Linked DNA regions of Homo sapiens: regions 2, 3, 4 and 5 are each linked to region 1. Evidence: promoter capture Hi-C in 16 types of primary human blood cells and fetal thymus (Javierre and others, 2016). All regions are on one chromosome and are shown on one strand. The core of a region is centred on a gene start or on the middle of the fragment in contact, and the rest is flanking DNA. Distances in the headings are between cores, read along the strand shown.

Region 1 (2,775 bases), core at 227-2,726:
TACTATGGGACAGACATTGTGCTTACATAAACACACACACTTTAATTCTCACAAAAACCAGGGAGGAGATAGGGTTAACCCCCCCTCCTGCCCCCACCCCTTTTATGAGAAAACTGAGACTTAGAGAAATTGACTCCCCTAAGGTCACCTAGCTAGACAGTGGTGGAACCAGGTTTCAAACTCAGGCAGAGATGTTCCAGGACAAAAGCAGCTTCAGTGAATAGTTGTAGCAAGTTTTAAGGACTGAGAAATTTATATTGAATTTTTCTGCGGCCTTAGGCAAGTTATTTCATTTATAGAAGCCTCGTTTTTCCTTATCTGTGAAATGGCTCTTTCTTCATTGGGTTGTTCTGAGAGTGAATGAGATGATGCATGAAGCCCGGCAGCACATTTCAAATGTATAATAAAAGGTCGGTAAGGTCAATAAGTGAATCAATGAACTCACATCACTGGTAACCCCTCGAACTCACATCACTGGTAACCCTCAGAGGGGACTCAGGCTCCTCAAATCTCAGGATCTGCGTCGACTACAGACCTCACTGTTTTTCTTAAACAAAAATCCTGAAATCCAGGCTGGGCGCAGTGGCTCACGCCAGTAGTCCCAACACTGGGAAGCTGAGGCGGGAGGATTGCTTGAACCCAGTAGTTCAAGACCAGCCTGGGCAACACAGTGAGACCTTGTCTCTTAACAACAAGTCCAAAGGGAATCATGGCCTCCACAATCCCAGTACAGCTAAACAGTTAACTGCCCACGTTCTTTTCCTTAATTCTATACAACCTCCCTGGGGTTTCTGGTTCTTTGGCAAGTGAGAGACGTGCTCCTCAACACTGGGTGAGCACACCGGGCTTGAATTTTAAAAAAGGAGAATCCGCCGGGCACGGTGGCTCACGCCTGTAATCCCAGCACTTTGGGAGGCCGAGGCAGGCGGATCACTTGAGGTCAGGGGCTCGAGACCAGCTTGGGCAATATGGTGAAACCCCGCCTCTAGGAAATAATTTTTAAAATAAGCTGGGTGTGGCGGCGTGCGCCTGTACTCGAGGAGGCTGAGGCATGAGAATCGTTTGAGCCCAGGAAGTCGAGGCTGCGATGAGCGGCGATAGCGCCACTCACTCCAGCCTGAGCGACAGTGAGACTGTCTCAAAAAAAAAAAAAAAAAAGTAAAAGCTCTCAGGGAGCGACTTTTCCCTTGGATAAGGCAGCCACACGCTAAGTCCCCTCTCCATCGGGGACCCTGGGGACAAACAGAACGGTGCGCATTTCCCTCCCCCGTCCCCATTCGGTCACTGCCACGGGCTGTACACCTGAGGGGGAAGGACGGGGGCGGCGGCGCGAGGAGGAAGGGCTTCGCCGCCAATCTGTCCCTAACCAGTCTGCCTCTCAACCCCTGCCTGAGGCGGAGGCGGTGCCCGGGGCGGGCCAAGCGTGACCGCGGGTCGGCGGGGCGTGTTTAAGACCGCGGCGTGCGCACCCGGCCCACGCCAGCTCCCGGCCGCGGCACAGCAGCCCCGGCGCTCCCCGCGCCGCCCCGCGCAGGCGCCCCCGCCCCGCCGTCGCCGCCGCCGCAGCCAGGAGCCGCTGCACCATGCCCCGCATAGATGCGGACCTCAAGCTCGACTTCAAGGATGTCCTGCTCCGACCTAAGCGGAGCAGCCTCAAGAGCCGAGCCGAGGTGGGGGACGTTCGGAAGTCGCAGTGGGGTGGGATTTTTTTTTCCGGGTGGCGCGGGGCAAGTGGGTGGAAGGGGGTGGCACCGGGTTACCCTGCCTGCTTTGGTGTTTGAGACTGGGGCGCTGCGCCCCCGTTCCCGCGCCCCAGCACCTGCCAGGACGTGAGGTGTCTTTAAGGGCGGTGATACGGGGGCCCATGAAATTCTCTACACGTCGGTCCCGTTGGGTGGCCTAGGGGAAGTTCACAGTGAAACTCGACCACAGATGAGCGAGATCCAGTGGCCAGTTGGTTTAGAAGGAATAGGGGTACGAGGGCGCTTATAGCAAGAAAAGGAAACTGGAGCTAGGGGAGAGAGGACGAGAAAAACAACTGCAGATCCCGGTGATTTTTGGCTGCGTCTCCTAGTGCTGATAATTGCTGCTGCTTTCGCTTCGGGTCCAGCGGTGGAACTTCGTGAACGCGTCTGAAAAACCAGAACCCAGGGCACAAGTTCAGGGTTTCCTTTCTGAGTTTGGCGGCCTTGCTGGCAGTGGGGCTTGGGGACTCAGCGGTACTGGACAGCCCGCGGTCCCAGCCTAGCCCTGGAGAAGAGTTTCGAAAGCTTTGGGGTGAGAGAGGTGGGGGCGAATTGGAAGCCTCGGGCATTTCCCTGGTTCTGCCTGGATGTCCTCAAATCCTAAGGAACAGGTGGAGACCGGACTGGAAATAGCCTGAGGCTGGGGGAAGGGAGGCCAGTCCCTGAAGGATAAACTAGTTGCCTGAAAGGCAGAGTGCCCCGGGGTGGTGTGCGCTGGTGACTGGCTTTGCTGAGAGCTGGAGAGGAAGGTGAGGAAACCGGACACGGTTGAAGGCTGGGGCTGAAGGAGTAAACACGAGGAGGCTGGGCCAACCTGCACAGCTCCGTCCACTCAGCTCCACAAACAAGACCATAAATAAATCCCCTCAGCAAAGAAGTCCGCTGCCCACTCCGGTGCCAGGCCTAACTGCAGTGCCTGGGGCTGCCAGCCGAGGGCTTGCTTGGATTGGGGAAGCCTCCGCGTTAGCCAATGACTAAACCAAGTGGCCTTCTGTAAGCAGCAGCATTGGCTGGTTTGGAGCCCGGCAGG
Region 2 (2,700 bases), core at 23-2,522, 590 kb before region 1:
CCTAGCTGAAGTGGACAAATTCCCACAAACACAAAACATACCAAGACTGAATCCTGAAGAAATGGGAAACTGAATCAGTAATAAAAAACCTCAAGATGAAATACCCTGGACTTGATTGCTTCACTGGTGAATTCTACCAAACATTTAAAAAAGAACCAACATTGACCATTCTCAAAATCTTTTTAAAAAGAAAATGAAGAGGAAGGAATAAATCCTAACTCATTCTACAAGCCAGCATTACCCTGATACCAAAGCCAAAGGCATACAAGAAAAGGAAACTACAGACCAATACCCCTTATGAATACTAATGCAAAAATCCTCAACAAAATACTGGCAAACTAAATTCTGCACTGTGTTAAAAGCATTATACACAATTTCCAAGAGGGATTTATTCCTGGAATGCAAGAATGGCTCAACATATGAAAATCTGTCAATGTAATAATATGACAGATTGGTAGAACGAAAGGAAAAAACACATGGTCATCCTAATTCATGGAGAAAAGTTATTTGACAAAATTCAACATCCTTTCATGATAAAAACACTAAAGTAGAAGGGAACAATCTCAACATAATAAAAATTCATAGTTGACATTATACTCAATGTTGAAAGACTGAAAGCTTTTCCTGTAAGATCAGGATCAAGACAAGGAACAAGACAAGGATGCCTGCTTTTTCCACTTCGATTCAACACAGTACTGGATGGTCTAGCCAGAGCAATTAGGCAAGAAAAAAGAAATAAAAGGTATTCAAATTGGAATGAATGAAGCAAAATGATTTCTATTCATAAATGATATGATCTTATATGCAGAAAACCCTGAAAGTTCCACACAAAAAACTATCAGGATAAAGGAACTCAGCAAAGTATGATATTAAATCAACACACAACAATTAAGTCAGTTGTTTCTATATACTACCAATAAATAATTCAAAAAAAGCAATTAAGAAAACAATTTCATAAATGATAGCATCAAAAAATACTTAGGAATTAACAAAGATGATGAAAGACTCATACAATGAAAACTACTAAACAATACTGAAAGAAATTAAAGAAGACATCAATAAATAGAAAAAGCACTCCATGTTAATGGATTGGAATACTTAACATTGTTATCTGTAATAAGCAAAATGACCAGATTCAATTTAATCCCAATCAAAACCCCAATGACATTCTTTGCAAACAATAGAAAATACATCTTAAAATTCATATGAAATCTCAAATGACCTTCAACAGCCAAAACAATCTTGACAAGAAAAACTCTTAGAAGAAAACACAGGGGAAAATCCTCATACTCATTAGAGTAGCTATAATAAAAAACAAGAAAATAGCGAGCGTTGGTGAGGATAGGAAGAAATTAGAACCTTTATACAATACTGATGGGAAAGTAAAATGATACAGTCACTATGGAAAACAGTATGGTGTTTCCAGAAAGAATAAAACACAGAATTACCGTATGATCCAGTAATTCTACTGCTGGGTATATACCCAAAGGAACTGAAAGCAAGGTGTCAAAAAGGTACTTGTCACTCATGTTCCTAGCAGCAAGCAGTATTTAGAACAGCCAAAAAGTGGAAGCAACTCAAGTGTCCATCAACAGATGAATAAACAAAATATGGTACATACTTACAATAGAATATTCAGCTTTTCAAAGAAAGAAAATTCTGACACATGCTGCAACATAAACTTTGAAAACATTATGCTAAATGAAATAAGCCGGTCACACACAAAAGTACTTTATAATTGCACTTATATGATGTTCCTAGAATAGTCAAATTCACAGAGAAAGCAAATAGAATGATGGTTGCCTGGGATGGAGAGGAGGGAGTAGAAATGAGAGTTGTTGGTTAACAGGTACAGAGTTTCCATTTTGCAAGATGAAAAGAGTTTTTGGGATTGGATGCACAACCATGTGAACGTACTCAGCACTACTAAGCTTAAGAATGGTTAAGATACATTTTATGCTATGTATATTACATTTTTAAAATTAAAAATATGATTTAAACATTTGCTATTTAAAATGGTCTTTCTCACATTCAATTTTAGTTCCAATGGGAAAAGACTGTTTCAGTGCGATGTATAAACACATTATTGACACCGTCTTACGGATGTAAATTTTCTATATTAACTCCTAAAATGCAACCCTATCCCCAAAAAATGTACCACACAAAAAGTTGATAGCTCTAACATAAATTTTTCAGTAAAATGAAGTTATTTCAACTAAGTTTCTAGAGAAAAAATAAAGATAAAATGTAAATAGTAAACAATACATTACTGATTAATTTGTACTACACTTCCTTTCATGTTCATTTCTGTTCTTCACACAACAAAACAAAGGAAGCAAATATCATATTAAGCACTTTTCACTTCAGAGAAGAAAAATCTCTAGATTTAGCAACCATAAAAAGAAACCTAATGAAGAACTAGAAAGGAGAAAGGAAAATGTAGGTATCAGTGATTGTGTCATAACAAATACAGATAAGGAAAAGCAGCATACCCTCTCCCACATACATCTTTACCACACATCTGTCAAATGGCACATTAGTAAGCACAGAAATATGTATAATGACATACTTTAACCATATACTGTATTTATTTATTTATTTTTTGAGATGGAGTTTCGCTCTTGTTGCCCAGGCTGGAGTGCACTGGCACGATCTCGGCTCACCGCAACCCCTGCCGAGATCGCACCATTGCACTCCAGT
Region 3 (2,722 bases), core at 26-2,525, 560 kb before region 1:
CTTGTAGGGCTGTTGTAAATATTAATGTGCAATCAATGATCTTTAAGTGCTTTGGAGAATTGTTCCATATAATAACAAAGTATTTATCATTATATACAGAAAGAGTGCTTATATGGTGTGAGAGGTTTCTTTTTTTTGAGACGGAGTCTTGCTCTGTCACCCAGGCTGGAATTCAGTAGTGCGATCTCGGCTCCCTGCAACCTCTGTCTCCTGGGTTCAAGCGATTCTCCTGCCTCAGCCTCCAGAGTAGCTGGGATTACAGGTACTTGCCACTACACCCAGCTAATTTTTGCATTTTTAGTAGAGACAAGGTTTCACCATGTTGGCCAGCCTGGTCTTGAACTCCTGACCTCAGGTGATCCGCCCACCTCGGCCTCCCAAAGTGCTGGGATTACAGGCTTGAGTCACTGTGCCCAGCCGAGAGATTTCTTATGAAACAGTCCACTGAGGCCTGCAGTATTGTTACAATCATATTGTCCAGTCACATTTGACACAGGGCCACAACCTTCTGAGAAAAGGGTTTCATTAAAAAGAGTAAATGACTTTCTTTTAATTTCCAACTTTTAAGTTCGGAGTACTTATAAAGGATGTTCAGGTTTGTTACATGGGTAAACGTGTGCCATGGTGGTTTGCTGCACAGATCATTCCATTGAGGAAATGACTTTCATGTGGGCACACATTTTGTGGTCATACTGTTTGCTGTTGGGAATCAGGTTTTTTTGCTCAAACTGGTAAACTTACTGAGGCTTGTTCTCTGCTTGGATGAAAGGACAGAATGAAAGATAGCTTTAATTTTATTCACCTATGTTAGGGAAGACTTTCAACCTTTTTGCTGAGTTGTAGAGTTCTGGTTCAATCTTAGAGAAAGGCAGCATGGTGGAGTGGGGCTTGGAGCCAAGGTGACTTGAATTTCCCACAGGCTCCATCACCTTTCAGCTGTGTGGCCTCAGGCAAGTCAATGAACCATTCTGAGCCTGTTTCTTCAACTGTAAAATAGAGATAATAACACAGCATCTTGCAGGAGTTGTGTGAAGATGAAAGCTTTAGGTACATGAAGATACAAAATACAGAAGAGTTTGGCACATGATAGGCCCTCGTAAATGTTCAGGAGTATACAGAATAGTTATGTATAAATATTGTTTATGAAATTAAAAAATCAGAAGATAAATTATGCTAATGCTAACCCGCCCACATTATGGATGATTAGTTTGGATTCAGGATCAGATTTGGAACATCTTTTGAAACATATGCAGGGCAGAGAAATTAACATTTAAATGCCTGGAGAACCTTACATTTTCTCATTCCTGACTTCTGGTATAAAATTTGCAATACAGCGTAAGTTTTTGGTATGCTCCCTTTTCTTTTGGACTTACTTACTTTTAATGAACAAACAAAACCACAGCATCATCTACAGTATTGGAAATTACAGCTACTAGGAGATGGAGCAATAAAAATGAGCCATAAACTCTAGTTAGCAGAGGGAAGCCCAAATCCAGGAGCTGACATAGTGAAGCTTCTAAAGACGACATAGGTGACTGATGCTGCTGCAATGTGATTAAATGGTTAAATGGTTATTTAGTCTGAAGGAAGTGGGCATCAGCCAAAAAGGAAGGATGGCATAGTTGTCTCACGCATTTGCTAAATCAAAATTAGAGAAATTATCTAGGGCATTCAGCTATTCTCTTGAGAACATAGCTATTTCTTAATTACCTAACTAGAAAACTCATGTTCCTCTGGAGAATTCTTAAGAAACTTTACAGAGAGTTTATGTGAACTGCAGCCTCTGGGGGCAAATGCCCCAGAGTGATTCTCTCACTTGAAATGAGTTCTCAGGTTCTGATGCAGCCAATCATCCCCTTGCAGCTTTTCCCTCCTTCCTGTCCCTTTCTACTACCACTAATCTAAGCAACTTCCCAGTTGGCCCCTGCCCCCAGCCTCTCCAATGTTACCTTCATGAAGCACAGTTCTAATCAAATCAGTCTGGCTCAGACACTTTTAGCAGCTCCACCACGCCCCACATGACGAAGTGCAAACTCCTTCAAAGGATATTTAAGGTCTTCCACGATCTGACCTCAACTTACGTTGAAACCTCATCTCATAGGTCTCCTTTATCACAGCCCTTATTCTTATCCTCATTACTAACCTCATGCATTCATTCAACAAACATTTTTAAAGTGCCACAAATCCAGCATCGTGATAGAGGATGAGCAAGACACAGCCTCTGCTCCAGGGAGCTCAGAGTCTGGTGATGGGTTGGACAAGCAAAAGAGTGTTACTGAATAAGGCGCCGTTATATTTATTTGCTGAACATCCAATGAATATTTAACAAGTACCTTTGATGTGTCAGTAACACACAAGCACACAGGGCAGGGGTGTCTAACTTTTCTTAGAGTCAGTGAAAGCTTAAAAGAGGAAGTGGCATTAACTGAATCTGGAGAGAATTTCAATCAGGGACAAAGTCCACATACAGGAAAAAAGGGCTTGAGGGAGCAAAGCACACATGATCTTGCTGAATGGTTCTTGTGGCTACAGCATGGCTGTAATATCATTTGAAGAAAACCTCTCTTCCTGGCCCTAATCCTGAGCATGTGCCCTTGATATCCCTTTAACTCAATTCATCCCTCAGGCTTGACTTGGAGGCCACTTACTCAGGGAAGTCTCTCTTGTTGGTTCAGACAATGCTAGTCCCCAGTTATTTACTCTGAGAATGTCTTCTACTTTT
Region 4 (2,700 bases), core at 52-2,551, 570 kb before region 1:
GCTTTGCATCCCCAGCAATGAAAACAGTGAATGGCACATAACAGACACCCAGTAAATGTCTTGTTGCAGGAGTTAAATAAGATAAAGGACTTAGCTTGTAGCTGGGGGACCACCTCTTCCCCACTCTTGATGTTTTCTTCCATGGGAAGGGAGCTCTTCTGCTAACATAAAGAAGTACCCAGCCTCTCCTGGTGGGGAAGAGGTGACTACGATGATTAGTGAGCTAGAAGTAAGGAGCTTGGTCTCATCTTCTTTTCTTTTTGTTGAGTGAACACTTCCAACAAAGAGCATTCATTCTGCTGCCTAAAGACAGGCTTGAAGGGCAACCCAGTGCTTTTTGTGACTGGGTACTAGAAGTTCTGCTTGCCCATGAATATAAGCCATGTGTTCCATCAGTCTTCCTAGATATAAAAGTGATATTTTGGCCTCTTTATGCTGACACTATTGTTTTATTTCTCAGTTTGCTCAGACAAGTAAGAAAGAGGAGTGCTGTTTATTGAGCCTTCTTCTACCTCTCAGAAACAGTGCCTGGAACAAAGCAAGTGATCAAATGATCAAATCTACAGACAGGTCCCTTAGTATCTAGTAGATTTGAAAACCACAAGTACTGGGAAATATTAAATTTTTTTCTTTTATTCAATTAAACTCTACACATAAGCTTTCAATTTACTAAGTTTCATACATTCCAACAAAGCACCAAATCCACTCAAAAAAGACTCTTGCCTGTCACTAAAAAATAGCTTTACTGGTTGTGCCTGATCATTTCTGTCTTGACCAATGCACTGTTTATTAGTCTATGGCATGTTTGTATTTGAGGTGCTTTCTGAACATTCTTAATTCCATCATATCTATTAAATTAAAAAACAGTGAAAGTTTTAAAAGTGCTAATAAAAAGATAATTTATGATTTAAAGAAGTAAATATTAAAAAAATTAGAAAATAACTACTGTTGTACATGAGTTGCTCAGGAGGAATGATTAAGGACCAAGAGTTGAAGCATGTGACATGTCGTGTTTACATAAGTAACAGTAATCAGCCAGAAACTAGGAAGATGGATTGGCAAAATGAAAAAAAAAACAAAGCTTTTAAGTACAGTTTGAGAACCAACATCAGTATGGAAGCTATTGACCTAATCTTAATTCAGGAATTGGTTGAGAGTTGATTGTTGTTTGTTTGGGGTTTTTTTGTTTGTTTTGTTTTAAGACGGAGTCTCCCTCTGTCACCTAGGCTGGAGTGCAGTGGTGCAATCTTGGCTCACTGTAGCCTCCACCTCCTGGGTTCAAGTGATTCTCCTGCCTCAGCCTCCTGGGTAGCTGGGATTACAGGCTTCCGCCACCACGCCCAGCTAATTTTTGTATTTTTAGTAGAGACAAGGTTTCACTATGTTGGACAGGCTGGTCTCAAACTCCTGACCTCAAGTGATCCGCCTGCCTTGGCCTCCCAAAATGCTGGGATTACAGGCATGAGCCACCGCGCCCAGCAGAGAGTTGATTTTTTGAGAGCATATTAGTTGCGCCCAGGAAAAGCTTTGGTGATACAACGTTTGGGGTGAGCACCAAAGCTGCTAAGAAGTTTCCTGAAATAGTGCTTCCCTGACCAGCAGCAGCCGCATCATCTGGGAGCTTCCTGCAAAGGTAGAATCGTAGGCCCCAGCCAGCCCTACTGAATCAGAATCTGAGTTTTATTAAGACCCCCCGGGTGATTTTTATTCATGTTAACATTTGAGAAGCCCTACTCGTTGATGAAAGGGGGTTTCCTGTCTCAGCAGATTCTTATTGGAGACAAAGTGATAAATGAGGATTTGGCGGAGTTAGAACCAAAGAGAAAGATGCTATTAAAGAAGGGGTGGTACGAAAGAAACCACCATCAGAGCGAACAGGCAACCTACAGAATGGGAGAAAATTTTTGCAATCTACTCATCGGACAAAGGGCTAATATCCAGAATCTACAATGAACTCAAACAAATTTACAAGAAAAAAACAACCCCATCAACAAGTGGGCAAAGGATGTGAACAGACACTTCTCAAAAGAAGACATTTATGCAGCCAAAAGACACATGAAAAAATGCTCATCATCGCTGACCATCAGAGAAATGCAAATCAAAACCACAATGAGATACCATCTCACACCAGTTAGAATGGCGATCACTAAAAAGTCAGGAAACAACAGGTGCTGGAGAGAATGTGGAGAAATAGGAACACTTTTACACTGTTGGTGGGACTGTAAACTAGTTCAACCATTGTGGAAGTCAGTGTGGCGATTCCTCAGGGATCTAGAACTAGAAATACCATTTGACCCAGCCATCCCATTACTGGGTATATACCCAAAGGACTGTAAATCATGCTGCTATAAAGACACATGAACACATATGTTTATTGTGGCACTATTCGCAATAGCAAAGACTTGGAACCAACCCAAATGTCCAACAATGATAGACTGGATTAAGAAAACGTGGCACATATACACCATGGAATACTATGCAGTGAAAAAAATGATGAGTTCATGTCCTTTGTAGGGACATGGATGAAGCTGGAAACCATTATTCTCGGCAAACTATCGCAAGGACAAAAAACCAAACACCGCATGTTCTCACTCATTGGTGGGAATTGAACAGTGAGAACACATGGACACAGGAAGGGGAACATCATACACTGGGGCCTGTTGTGGGGTGGAGGGAGGCGGGAGGGATAGCATTAGGAGA
Region 5 (2,700 bases), core at 145-2,644, 520 kb before region 1:
TACCACGTTTGGATCCTATGGCAGACAACTACTAACTGTTTACCAATATGGATTTCTCCTTTTTAACAGAACCCCAATTCTGTTTGGGCAGCAGTGTATCCAGTTAAAAATATTAGACTCCCTTGCAGCTAGGAATCAACAAGTATCAAAGTCTGGTTACTGTGACATGCTCTCTAGATTTCTGGAAAAGGTGCCACCTCTTCCTATCTCCCTCCCTTCTCCTATCTGGAGCTGGGGTAGCCATCCTGTGCCCATGAACCCAAAGAAATCAGCTGAGCACAGATCATAAGTGCAGGATGGTAGAGCAGAAAGATAGAAGGATCCTGACACACTGTTGCAATCTACCTCCAGACTCCTTAGTATGTGACAAAAATCAACCTCTATTTGGTTAAACTATTATGGTTGGATTTGTTGCTCCTTATACAAAGGTATTATATGGACTCATTTATCGGGTGACCAGCAAGGCTGTTAGCTTTGAGTGGGGCCCACAGCAAATCTCTCCAACTTGTCAAGGCATTGATACAAAGCGGTTTTGCCCCTTGCCCCTTATTACCAGAGGATCCAATGATGCTCAAAGTGCTTGTGGCAGAAAATATATCGTATGGACCCTTTGGAAAAGTCTGGTAGGAAAATTACAGGGAAGGTCCTTTGGGTTTTAAAGTCACATCCCACTGGACAAGTTATAATTCTTGAGAAAAAGCTTGTAACTTGATAATGAATTCTGTTTCTGGGCTCTGTTCCATTAGTCTGTCTATCTCTAAGCCAATACTATACTCTCTTGGTTTTATACATTTATAAATTCTTGCTATCTGGTGGAGCTATCCTTTCACTTTGTTCTTCAAGAGGATTTTAACTATCTTGGCCATTTGTGTTTTTACTTAAATTTTAGAATCAACTTGTTGAGTTTCATAAAAAAAAGATCTGTTGGAGTTTTGACTGAGATTGCACCAAATCTATTAAACTGGGGAGAACTGGCATGTGTATTCCAATCTATGAGAATACCTTGTCTCTCTATTTGTGTAGTCTTTAAGTTCTCTAAAAGATGTTATAGTTTTCTCCATAATCTTATATATTTTCTGGTAGATTACTCCTTGACATCTACTATTTTTAATGCTACTACAAATAAGAAATTAAAAATTGTTTATTTTCTAATTATTTGGTGGCTGGTATTCAGAAATAAGATTCATTATACAGACAGTAATTTTGTGTAAAGCAAATTTGCTAAACTCTCTAATTCTTATAATTTCTCTGGATTCTTTCAATTTCTCTAGACATAATTTTCTTATCTGAAAAATAATGAAAGTCTTTTCTGACAATTCTTAAAACTTTCCCTTATAAATTAGCTGGGTGTGGTGGCGGGTGCCTGTAGTCCCAGCTACTCAAAAGGTTGAGGCAGGAGAATTCTTGAACCCGGGAGGCGGAGGTTGCAGTAAGCCGAGATTGCACCACTGCACTCTAGCCTGGGCGGTAGAGTGAGACTCCGTCTCTAAACAAAAAACAAAAACAAAATCAAAACCAAAAAACAAAACAAAAAAATCTTCCCTTATTTAACCTGCTCTTACTAGGAACTAGATTAATGCTAATTAGAGAAGTTTTACCAGAAATCTTTGTTTTGTTTTTGATCTCGAAGGGAATGCTTTCAAAATTTTACCATTAAATATGAGGTTTTCTTTGTTTCCCTATATACTAAGAAGAGGTGTGTGTGTGCATGTGTGTGTGTGTTTGCATGTACATGTGTATTTAAATGTAATAGATGTTGCCCGATTGCTTTCCCAAAAAGCCGAAATAATTAACATTTCTATCAATTAGCATTTTTGCCAGTGATAGGCATTATAATTCTTTAAAACATTTGCCATTCTGTTGGGAATAAAAGATACCTTATAATTTTATTTTAATTTGCATTTTCTCAACTGCTAGCAAGTTTGATCTTCTCATACGTTGCTGACCATTTGAATTTGTCCTCTTATGAACAGTCTCTTCATGTCCTTTGCCAAAGTTTTTGTTTGTTTATTCCTTACTTTTAATTTGAAAGAAACTTTTGCATGGTATAACTAACCTCATATGTCCTCTGAATTGCAAGTACTTGTCCAAGCTTATAACTCTTTAAGGTTTTTTTTTTTTTTTTTGAGATGGAGTTTCACTCTTGTTGCCCAGGCTGCGGTGCAATGGCATGATCTCGGCTCACTGCAACTTCTGCCTCCAGGGTTCAAGTGATTCTTTTGCCTCAGCCTCCCGAGTAGCTGCGATTACAGACGTACGCTACCACGTCCAGCTAATTTTGTATTTTTAATAGAGACAGGGTTTCTCCATGTTGGTCAGGCTGGTCTCGAACTCCTGACCTCAGGTGATCCACCCGGCTCAGCCTCCCAAAGTGCTGGGATTACAGGCGTGAGCCACTGTGCCCGACTCTTATGTTTTTAAGCTATAAAATTGTTTTAAATTTATGATAAAATCTCTATTTTTTATTTTGTGTCATCTGTTTTTCCAATCTTGTCCACATATTGTCTCCTAAATTTTCTTGCAGAATTTTAAGTTGTTAATATTCTACATTTAAGTCTTTTAGCCATTTAGCCTGAAATTTGTCTTCATATATGGTAAAACAAAGAGATCTAATTTAATTTTCTTCCACTTAGATTATTTGTATCACCACCATTTATTAAATAATGCATTATTTTCCCACTTAGATAAAATGCCATCCTT

What was found. The method cuts DNA at HindIII sites, captures the fragments that hold promoters and counts their contacts. A CHiCAGO score of 5 or more calls a contact.
Region 2: a fragment that was not itself captured here is called in contact with the fragment with the promoter of GMPR in region 1 in 1 of 17 cell types (naive CD4 T cells); the score reaches 5.1 in naive CD4 T cells.
Region 3: a fragment that was not itself captured here is called in contact with the fragment with the promoter of GMPR in region 1 in 14 of 17 cell types (naive CD4 T cells, total CD8 T cells, total B cells and 11 more); the score reaches 13.9 in naive CD4 T cells.
Region 4: a fragment that was not itself captured here is called in contact with the fragment with the promoter of GMPR in region 1 in 1 of 17 cell types (naive CD8 T cells); the score reaches 6.2 in naive CD8 T cells.
Region 5: a contact is called between a fragment that was not itself captured here and the fragment with the promoter of GMPR in region 1, in 2 of 17 cell types (total B cells and naive CD4 T cells). The highest score is 5.8, in total B cells.

Annotation. Positions count from the first base shown.
Region 1 is chr6:16,237,111-16,239,885 of GRCh38, forward strand. GMPR (guanosine monophosphate reductase) reads left to right here and starts at 1,477. Exons shown (of 9, transcript NM_006877.4): 1 at 1,477-1,670. The coding sequence starts at 1,584. RefSeq lists silencers at 1,260-1,359, 1,480-1,579. The HindIII fragment of the contact is 2,876 bases long and covers 1-2,268 here.
Region 2 is chr6:15,647,686-15,650,385 of GRCh38, forward strand. All of the region lies in intron 3 of DTNBP1 (dystrobrevin binding protein 1), which reads right to left. Among named protein-coding and RNA genes, the nearest start is that of DTNBP1, 14 kb to the right of the region's middle. The HindIII fragment of the contact is 1,313 bases long and covers 617-1,929 here.
Region 3 is chr6:15,681,202-15,683,923 of GRCh38, forward strand. No RefSeq gene overlaps it. Among named protein-coding and RNA genes, the nearest start is that of DTNBP1, 20 kb to the left of the region's middle. The HindIII fragment of the contact is 472 bases long and covers 1,040-1,511 here.
Region 4 is chr6:15,665,004-15,667,703 of GRCh38, forward strand. No RefSeq gene overlaps it. Among named protein-coding and RNA genes, the nearest start is that of DTNBP1, 3.3 kb to the left of the region's middle. The HindIII fragment of the contact is 444 bases long and covers 1,080-1,523 here.
Region 5 is chr6:15,716,962-15,719,661 of GRCh38, forward strand. No RefSeq gene overlaps it. Among named protein-coding and RNA genes, the nearest start is that of DTNBP1, 55 kb to the left of the region's middle. The HindIII fragment of the contact is 1,392 bases long and covers 699-2,090 here.